2 separate regions of the Homo sapiens genome follow, and region 2 is linked to region 1. Evidence: promoter capture Hi-C in 16 types of primary human blood cells and fetal thymus (Javierre and others, 2016). All regions are on one chromosome and are shown on one strand. The core of a region is centred on a gene start or on the middle of the fragment in contact, and the rest is flanking DNA. Distances in the headings are between cores, read along the strand shown. Region 1 holds the start of SNX6 (sorting nexin 6). Region 2 has its middle 5.4 kb from the start of BAZ1A.

The links. The method cuts DNA at HindIII sites, captures the fragments that hold promoters and counts their contacts. A CHiCAGO score of 5 or more calls a contact.
Region 2: a fragment that was not itself captured here is called in contact with the fragment with the promoter of SNX6 in region 1 in 1 of 17 cell types (total B cells); the score reaches 6.0 in total B cells.

What each region holds. Positions count from the first base shown.
Region 1 is chr14:34,627,031-34,631,720 of GRCh38, forward strand. SNX6 (sorting nexin 6) reads right to left here and starts at 3,118. Exons shown (of 14, transcript NM_152233.4): 1 at 3,081-3,118; 2 at 2,877-2,924. The coding sequence starts at 3,086. RefSeq lists a silencer at 2,872-3,221 and an enhancer at 3,392-3,441. The HindIII fragment of the contact is 3,459 bases long and covers 106-3,564 here.
Region 2 is chr14:34,878,630-34,882,988 of GRCh38, forward strand. No RefSeq gene overlaps it. Among named protein-coding and RNA genes, the nearest start is that of BAZ1A, 5.4 kb to the left of the region's middle. The HindIII fragment of the contact is 767 bases long and covers 1,832-2,598 here.

The sequences.
Region 1 (4,690 bases), core at 1,868-4,367:
TAGAGACAGGACCTCACTCTGTCACCCTGGCTCTCTCAAGCCATAGCTCATTGTTCTCAAGCTCTCAGCCTCTCAAATAGCTAGGACTACAGGTATATACCACCAAGCTTGCCTAAGTTTAAAAAAAAATTGTTGGCCAGGCGCGGTGGCTCACGCCTGTAATCCCAGCACTTTGGGAGGCAGAGGCGGGCGGATCACGAGGTCAGGAGATCGAGACCATCCTGGCTAACACGGTGAAACCCCGTCTCTACTAAAAATACAAAAAAATTAGCCAGGTGCGGTGGCGGGCGCCTGTAGTCCCAGCTACTCAGGAGGCTGAGGCAGGACAATGGCGTGAATCCGGGAGGCGGAGCTTGCAGTGAGCCAAGATAGCACCACTGCAGTCGGGCCTTCGGCCTGGGCGAAAGAGCGAGACTCCGTTTCAAAAAAAAAAAAAATTGTTTTTTCTTTTTTTTCTTTTTTTGAGATGGAGTTTTGCTCTTGTTGCCCAGGCTGGAGTGCAATGGTGCAATCTCAGCTCACTGCAACCTCCACCTCCCAGGTTCCAGTGAATGAATCCAGTGATTCTCCTGCCTCAGCCTCTGAAGTAACTGGAATTACAGGCATGCGCCACCATGCCCAGCTAATTTTTGTATTTTTAGTAGAGACAGGGTTTCACCATGTTGGTCAGGCTGGTCTCGAACTCCTGACCTCAGGTGATCCACTCACTTCGGCCTCCCAAAGTGCTGGGATTACAGGCGTGAGCCACCGTGCCTGGTCTTAAAATTTTTAGGTACAGATGAGGTCTTGCTATGTTGCCCAGGCTGATCTTGAATTCCTGCCTTAAACAATCCTCTTGCCTCGGCCTCCCAAAATGCTGGGATTAAAGGTGTGAGCCATTGTGCCTGGCCGAAACTAAAAATCTTACCAACAACTAGTAATTCTATATGATGCTTTTGCTCTAACCTGAAATTCTAAATAATGCCTTTGTTTACACTGAGAAATTAATTTATAAAAGTATGCAGCACCTTCTCCATCTTTCTTACTATTTAAAAGCTCGGCTGGGCACAGTGACTCACGCCTATAATCGCAGGAGGATCACTTAGGCCCAGGAGTTTGACACTGGCCTGGGCAACATGGTGAGACCCTGTCTCTATAAAAACAAACAGGCCGGGCGTGGTGGCTCACGCCTATAATCCCAGCACTTTGGGAGGCCGGGGTGGGTAGATCACGAGGTCTGGAAATCGAGACCATCCTGGCTAACATGATGAAACCCCGTCTCTACTAAAAATACAAAAAATTAGCCGGGCGTGGTGGCGGGCGCCTGTAGTCCCAGCTACTCGGGAGGCTGAGGCAGGAGAATGGCGTGAACCCGGGAGGCGGAGCTTGCAGTGAGCCAAGATAGCGCTACTGCACTCCAGTCTGGGTGACAGAGCAAGACTCCGTCTCAAAAAGCCAACAAACAAAAACCCAGCTAGGCATGGTGGCCCGTGCCAGTAGTCCCAGCTACTTGGGAGGCTGAGGTGGGAGGATCACTTAAGCCCAGGAGGTCAAGGCTGCAGTGAGCTATAACCATGCCACTGCACTCCAGCCTGGGCAACAAAGGGAGATACTGTCTCATAAAACCAAATAAATAAATAAAAGTTTTATAAAAGTCATCAGTTCATACTAACTACCTCATCTGTTATTACAAACAGCAATAACATCCCACAATATTTTATCACCTACCAAATATGCACTAACAGATGTCTCTCTCACATTAAAACGGATAAGAAAAAGCAAAAGGGAAAACTGAAGTGCAGGCTGTGAAATGTGAAGGAACCATGGAACCTTGCTGAATGGTAATTATCATATATCAACATTTTCCAAGTGCTCACTTGTACAAGGGACTATAAAGATTACCACCCTTCAGCCAAGGAAAAAGGGGGTGGAGAGTGGGGTGGGAGGGAGGAATCAGAGCCCGGAAGGCTCTTTCTGAAGTAGAATGCAACTAACCTCAGAACACCAAGGGCAGAATGGAGGTTATCAAAGGCCTGGCGGAGTGTGTATGTGGGGGGTGAGTGGGTGGAGCGTCGATGTTGGTCAAAGGGTACATACTTGAAATTTGCTTAGATCTCAAATGTTCTCACACAAAAAAAAATGGTAACTAGGTGAGGTGATGGATATGTCAGGTTGATTTTGGTACTCATTTCACAATGTATTCGTGTATTAAAATATAATGTATACCTTAAGTATATACAATTATCAACAGTATTTGTCAATATACCTCAAAGAAGCTAAGGGGGAATAAAACACCAAGGAAATCCTGCCAAAGACAGGATTTGTTGGATATTAGAAAAAGTAAAGATACCATGGGCTACCTGCACTTTGCATAATCTAGTAGGGCACTGGACAGGAGTTGATTCGGCTACTATAAAAATCCTTGCAAAATGGTAATGTAGACTACACCTGTACTATTTGAGAGAGACAGAAGGGTGGGCGGGAGCAAGTTCGAGATGTCCACACCGGGTGAAAATTGAGGGTGCCGCTGGGAAGGTCCGAGAATGGGTTTTCATGGCCCCAAAGTGTCGAGGGAGGGTGGGGGCGTTCCATCTCCCGCCTCCATTTCCACTTCGCCACCTGCACCCCGCCCCGCGTGGGAGTGGAGGTCCACCAGAAGGCCCGAACAGCGGCGGGGGACAAGAAAGCGGCCGCGGGTCCCCGGGAATCGGAGCCGAGCGGCCCCTAGGGAGGAAGGGCTGCGGGAGGGTGGGGCGCGGTGCAGCGAGGAAACCGAAAGGAGGACTACGGGGAGGGAGTGCCGCGCGGCTGGGGACCCATCCCCGTACCACACCCGGGGACCCAGGATGGGGAAGGAGGGTCCAGGGTCCCGCGAGCGAAAGGAAGGCAGAACTTACTCCGCGGTCCTCTTCTGAGAGGAAGTCCGGGCCGTCGTCCAGGCCTTCCTGTGGGGTCGGCGGGCACGGCGCGCCGGGGAAAAGGATGAGATGGGGGAGACACAAAGGGAGACATTAGTGACAGGCTGGCGCGGTCCCCGCGCCCGCCCCGCGCCCGCTGCCCCCACCGCGCTCCCGGGACTCGGCGCCGCGGAGAACACCCACCATCATGGCTGCTCCGAGGCGAGGGCCGGCGCAGGCGCGCATCTCCCTGCTGCCGGAGGGAGCCGGCGGCCAGGAGCGGGGCGGGGCGGGGCGGAGGCGAAGGGGCGGGGCCTAAGGACGGCCCGCCCCGTCCCCGGCGCTGGTCGCTCGAGTCCGTGAGCGAGGAAGGTTAACAGGGCCTTCTGCCCAAGGTCAAGGCACCGAAGTCGGGAGAGCCTGAAGACCCAGACCTCATGGCTGGGGGCACCTCGCAGCTGGCGGGCTCTGACCAGGGAAGGGCCAAAGGCCACCCAGGGAGCTCTCCAGTTCCCCTGCCCCGAGGGCTCCAGCGAAAAACGATGCAGGCGCCCTCCGGAAGCCATAATACATCATCTGGTCTTTGTATTATGCCACACGATAATTAATCACAATTAATATCATTTTGCCTATGGAAGTTGCTGGAAACAAGGACCTTCACACAGTCGGTAATCAGGGACTATAATCAAGCTTTTACCGCTGGCGAGGTAATAACTACCTCAGAGTTTGGGGCACTAATGGTTGCGAACTATAAAAATGAGCTGTTTTCATTACAAAAATATTCCTTTCCTTTGTTAGAAGAAATTTCCCCACACCTACTCTAACTGTCCAGGTGGTTAGCATCACACGGGATCCACAGGCATTTCAAATAACGGGAGAAAATCATACTTAATCCTAGAATCTACACGTTCCTGAGCTTGCATTCAGTTAAGGAAAGGCATCTTCAGATGTTCAGACCAGAAACCCTTAACCCATTGAAATCCGTACTCTAGGGGCCGGGCGCTGTGGCTCACGTCTCTAATTCCAGCACTTTGGGAGGCCAAGGCGGGCGGATCACCTGAGGTCAGGAGTTTGAGACCATCCTGGCTAACATGGTGAAACCCCGTCTCTACTAAAAATACAAAAATTAGCCGGGCGTGGTGGCGCGTGCCTGTAATCTCAGCTACTTGGGAGGCTGAAGCAAAAGAATCGCTTGAACCTGGAAGGCAGAGGTTGCAGTGAGCCGAGATTGCACCACTGCACTCCAGCCTGGGCAACAGAGCAAGACTCTGTCTCAAAAAAAGAAAGAAATAAATCCTTATCTCCCTTACTCCTCATATCCAACCAAATCCTATGGCTTCTACAATTGATTGTCCTTCATACCTCTTTTTTTTTTTTTTTTGAGACAGAGTCTCGCTCTGTCGCCCAGGCTGGAGTGCAGTGGTGCGATCTCGGCTCACTGTAAGCTCCACCTCCAGGGTTCACGCCATTCTCCTGCCTCAGCCTCCCGAGTAGCTGGGACTACAGGTGTGTGCCACCACACCCGGCTAATTTTTTTGTATTTTTAGTAGGACAGGATTTCACCATGTTAGCCAGGAAGGTCTTGATCTCCTGACCTCATGATCCGCCCGCCTCGACCTCCCAAAGTGCTGGGATTACAGGTGTGAGCCACTGCGCCCAGCCCATACCTCTTTAATTAGTCCAATTTTTCCAGTTCTCACAGCAATTACCATCAACTCTCGTCTACACCTTTGCAATACTCTCCTGACTCCACTATTTTCCATCACTTTATCCTATTTTACACACTGCTGCCAGTTTTCCTCCTAAAACACAGA
Region 2 (4,359 bases), core at 965-3,464, 250 kb after region 1:
GCACTTTGGGAGGCCAAGGCAGGTGGATGAGGTCAGGAGTTCAAGACCAGCCTGACCAACATGGTGAAACCCTGTCTCTACTAAAAATACAAAATTAGCTGGGCATGGTGGCACACGCCTGTAATTCCAGCTACTTGGGAGGCTGAGGCAGGAGAATCACTTGAACCCAGGAGGCAGAGGTTGCAGTGAGCCAAGATCATGCCATTGCACTCCGGTTTGAGCAACAAGAGCAAAATTCCATCAAAGAAAAAAAAAAGACTGGAATTTTAAGTTTTATTATTTATTTATTTTTGAGACAGTCTCTTACCCTGTTGCCCAGGCTGGGGTGCAGTGGCACGATCTCAGCTCATGCAACCTCTGCCTCCTGATGCAACCTCTGCCTCCTGCGTTCAAGTGATTCTCCTGCCTCAGCCTCCCGAGTAGCCGGGATTACAGGTGCCTGCCACCATACCCAGCTAATTTTTGTATTTTAGGTAGAGACGGGGTTTCCCCATGTTGGCCAGGCTGGTCTCGAACTCCTGACTTCAGGTGATCCACTCGCCTTGGCCTCCCAAAGTGCTGGGATTACAGGCATGAGCCACCGCACCTGGCCCGGAATATAAATTTTTAAAGTTTGAGGCCAGGCGTGGTGGTTCATACCTGTAATCCCAGCACTTTGGGAGGCCGAGGCGGGTGGATCACGAGGTCAGGAGTTCGAGACCATCCTGGCTAACATGGTGAAACCCCGTCTCTAATAAAAATACAAAAAATTAGCCAGGCATGGTGGCGGGCGCCTGTAGTCCCAGCTACTTGGGAGGCTGAGGCAGGAGAATGGCGTGAACCCAGGAGGCGGAGCTTGCAGTGAGCCAATATCCAGCCACTGCACCCCAGCCTGGGCGACAGAGTGAGACTCTGTCTCAAAAAAAAAAAGAAAGAAAGAAAGAAAAAAGTTTGAACTAGAACAATTTTCCTGCAGCTTCTATTAATATTGACTGATTAACTTAAGAAAGGCTTTATACTTAGGTGGTTTAGTGAGACAGTAATCACTTACACCTGAAAGAAACCTTTGGGACCTCTGTTAATTCTTCCATTTTGCACCTGAGGAAATTGAAGCTGAGGAACCAGAATCCAGGCCTCCTGAGTCTCCTTGTCCAGTCAGTGTCTTTAGACCACACTGCTCTTTCTTTGGATTCAATAATAGCTAATTTTCTTATATACCCTACTCCCACAGCATTAATGAGCTAAAATACCATTATACATCCTTCCTAAAGTGCTCATATAGGGATAAGCTATATTACTGATGATTAGAAATAATTATTTTTGTTGCAGCTGTGTCCTTAACATTAAAAAATAAAAAGTAAAGAAATAATTATTTTTGAGAATCATCCAGGAAAGCAATGGGGTAATAAAAGTCATAGGCCGGGTGAGGCTGCTCATGTCTGTAATCCCAGCACTTTGGGAGGCTGGGGCGGGCAGATCACCTGAGGTCAGGAGTTCAAGACAAGCCTGGCCAACGTGGTGAAACCCCGTCTCTACTAAAAGTACAAAAATTGGCTGGGCGTGGTGGTGTGCGCCTGTAATCCCAGCTACTCGGGAAGCTGAGGCAGGAGAATCGTATGAACCTGGAAGGTGAAGGTTGCAATGAGCTGAGATCATGCCGTTGCACTCCAGCCTGGGGACACAGTGAGACTCCGTCTCAAAAAAAAAAAAAAAAAAAATCATAAATTTCTCTAATTGGACAGCTGACATGAGACCTATCTCCATGCTTCCATTAACACATCTAACAGATAGAAAATTTCATTTCCCTTACCTCTCAGCAATATTATAAAAGTACTTACAGTATAGCTGCCCAAGCTTTTCTGAGAAAGATGCCTTACAAATATATACAAGGAACATCTTTAGTTTTGTAATTCCTTTTCTCACATATCTCTAACATTTGTCTCAAGTCTTCTATGTTCTTTATAATGTCTTTCTAATGAATTCATGGCATTTTACCCATAAAAGATTTCTATATACAGTACTGTTATTTAGAAGCAATGTGTTTTCCTTTATATCTGAAACCAGTGGCCTAGTGTTAGAATAGTGGTTCTAGAACTTGGCTGCCCATTGGAAACACCTGAAGGGTTTTTGAAAAATACTGGTGCTTGGGCCATATCCAGGCCCCAGGTCGCTGGGAAAGAGACCCAGGCATTGGGAGTTTAAAAATCTACTCAGGTAATTTAATGGACTGCCAAGGCTGAGAATTACTGTGCTCGGACTGTTGATGTTGAAGTGGTAATGTGGGCAAATTGGGAATACATCTTTTTATTCAACCCCTTCCGATTAGAGTCATGAATTATGGGATGTAGTTAAAGTTGAGAGAGTAGTCTATGGTCATCATCTTTATCACAGTAATACTTTACATTTAATGACTGTTTCCAACTTGTCAAGGATTGTGCTAAGGGCTTTAAGGGAATCATCTCATCTCATGCAATTTTCACCTCAAACTAAGAAGTACTTATCACCATTTTACAGATGAAGCCAGTGAGGCTCTGAGAGGTTAATTAAGTAGCATGCCCCAAACCATACAGTTCAGAAACAGGAAGGCCTAAATTCCAATCTTATCAACTCCAGAATCCAAGCTTCTTACTACTATTCTATATTTCCATAGGACTGACTTGCTAATCTAGCTCAGATATAAACTGAAACAGGGAACTCAGTACTATCCACTGAACAATTTAGAACTTGTAATGATTAAGAAGGTTTGTTAATCATAAAAGTACTAACGAAAACCATGTAAGATTTTTTTAAAAATTATCTCAAAAGAAAGAAAGCCTACTTATAAGAGAAAATACACAATATATAATTCTACAAAATAAAAATTTAGGCTGGGCACAGTGACTCATGCCTATAATCCCAGTATTTTGGGAGGCCGAGGCAGGTGGATCACTTGAGCACAGGAGTTCAAGAACAGCCTGGGCAACATGGTGAAATCCCATCTCTACTGAAATACAAAAATTAGCCAGGTATGGTGGCACACGCCTGTGGTCCCAGCTACTCAGGAGTCTGAGGTGGGAGGATCATTTGGGCCCAGGAGGTTGAGGCTGCAGTGAGCCAAGATCTCACCACTGCACTCCAGCCTGGGCAACAGAGTGAGACCCTGTCTCAAAAATAAAATAATAAATAAAGTTCCGCATATAAAAGTTAACACAGGCCAGGCACAGTGGCTCACACCTGTAATCCCAGCACTTTGGGAGGCCGAGGCAGGTGGATCACCTGAGGTCAGGAGTTCAAAATCAGCCTAGCCAGCATGGCAAAAACCTGTCTCTACTAAAAATACAAAAATTAGCCAGGCTTGGTGGTGGGCTCCTGTAATCCCAATTACTCAGGGAGACTGAGGCATGAGAATCGCTTAAACCTGGGAGGCAGAGGTTGTAGTGAGCCGAGATCGTGTCACTGCACTCCAGCCTGGGCAACAGAGCAAGACTCCATCTCAAAAAACAACAACAACAAAAACAACGAAAAAAAGCTACCACAAAGTTGAAAGACAATAGCAAATTGGGGAAAAAAATATTTGCAACTCGCTGACAAAGGGCTAATTTCCCTAATATATAAAGAGCTCCCATAAATAATAATAATAAATCACAATAACCCAACATAAACAGAAAAGGAAGCACAAATGGCTTTTCAAACATAAAAAACACTTTGGGAGGCTGAGGTGGAGAGATCACTTGAGGTCAGGAGTTTGAGACCAGCCTGGCCAATGTGTCGAAACCCCGTCTCTACTAAAAATACAAAAATTAGCCAGGCGTGGTGGCGTAGGCCTGTAGTACCAGCACTTGGGAGGTTGAGGGTGGAAAATCGCTTGAAACTGGGAGGTGGAGGTTGCAGTGAGCTGAGATTGCACCACTGCACTCCGGCCTGAGAGACAGAATGAGACCCTGCCTTAAAAATAAAAATAAAAGATATTCACTAACAAGACAAGTATAAATTAAAACTACACTGTGAGGCCGGGTATGGTGGCTCACACCTGTAATCCCAGCACTTTGGGAGGCCAAGGCAGGTGGATCACAAGGTCAGGAGTTTGAGACCAGCCTGGCCAGAATGGCAAAACCCTGTCTCTACTAAAAATACAAAAATGAGCTGGGCATGGTGGCACACGCCTGTAGTCCCAGCTACTCAGGAGGCTGAGGCAGGAGAATCACTTGACCCTGGGAGGTGGAGGTTGCGGTGAGCCGAGATCGCACCACTACACTCCAGCCTGGGCGACAGAGCAAGATTCCGTCTCAAAAAAAAAAAAAAAGAAAAGAAAAAGAAAGAAGTAAAATAAAAACACATACAAGGTACAGAAAAATGTGTATGTTGTTTAAAAAATATTATAATATATATTTGCCTGATACA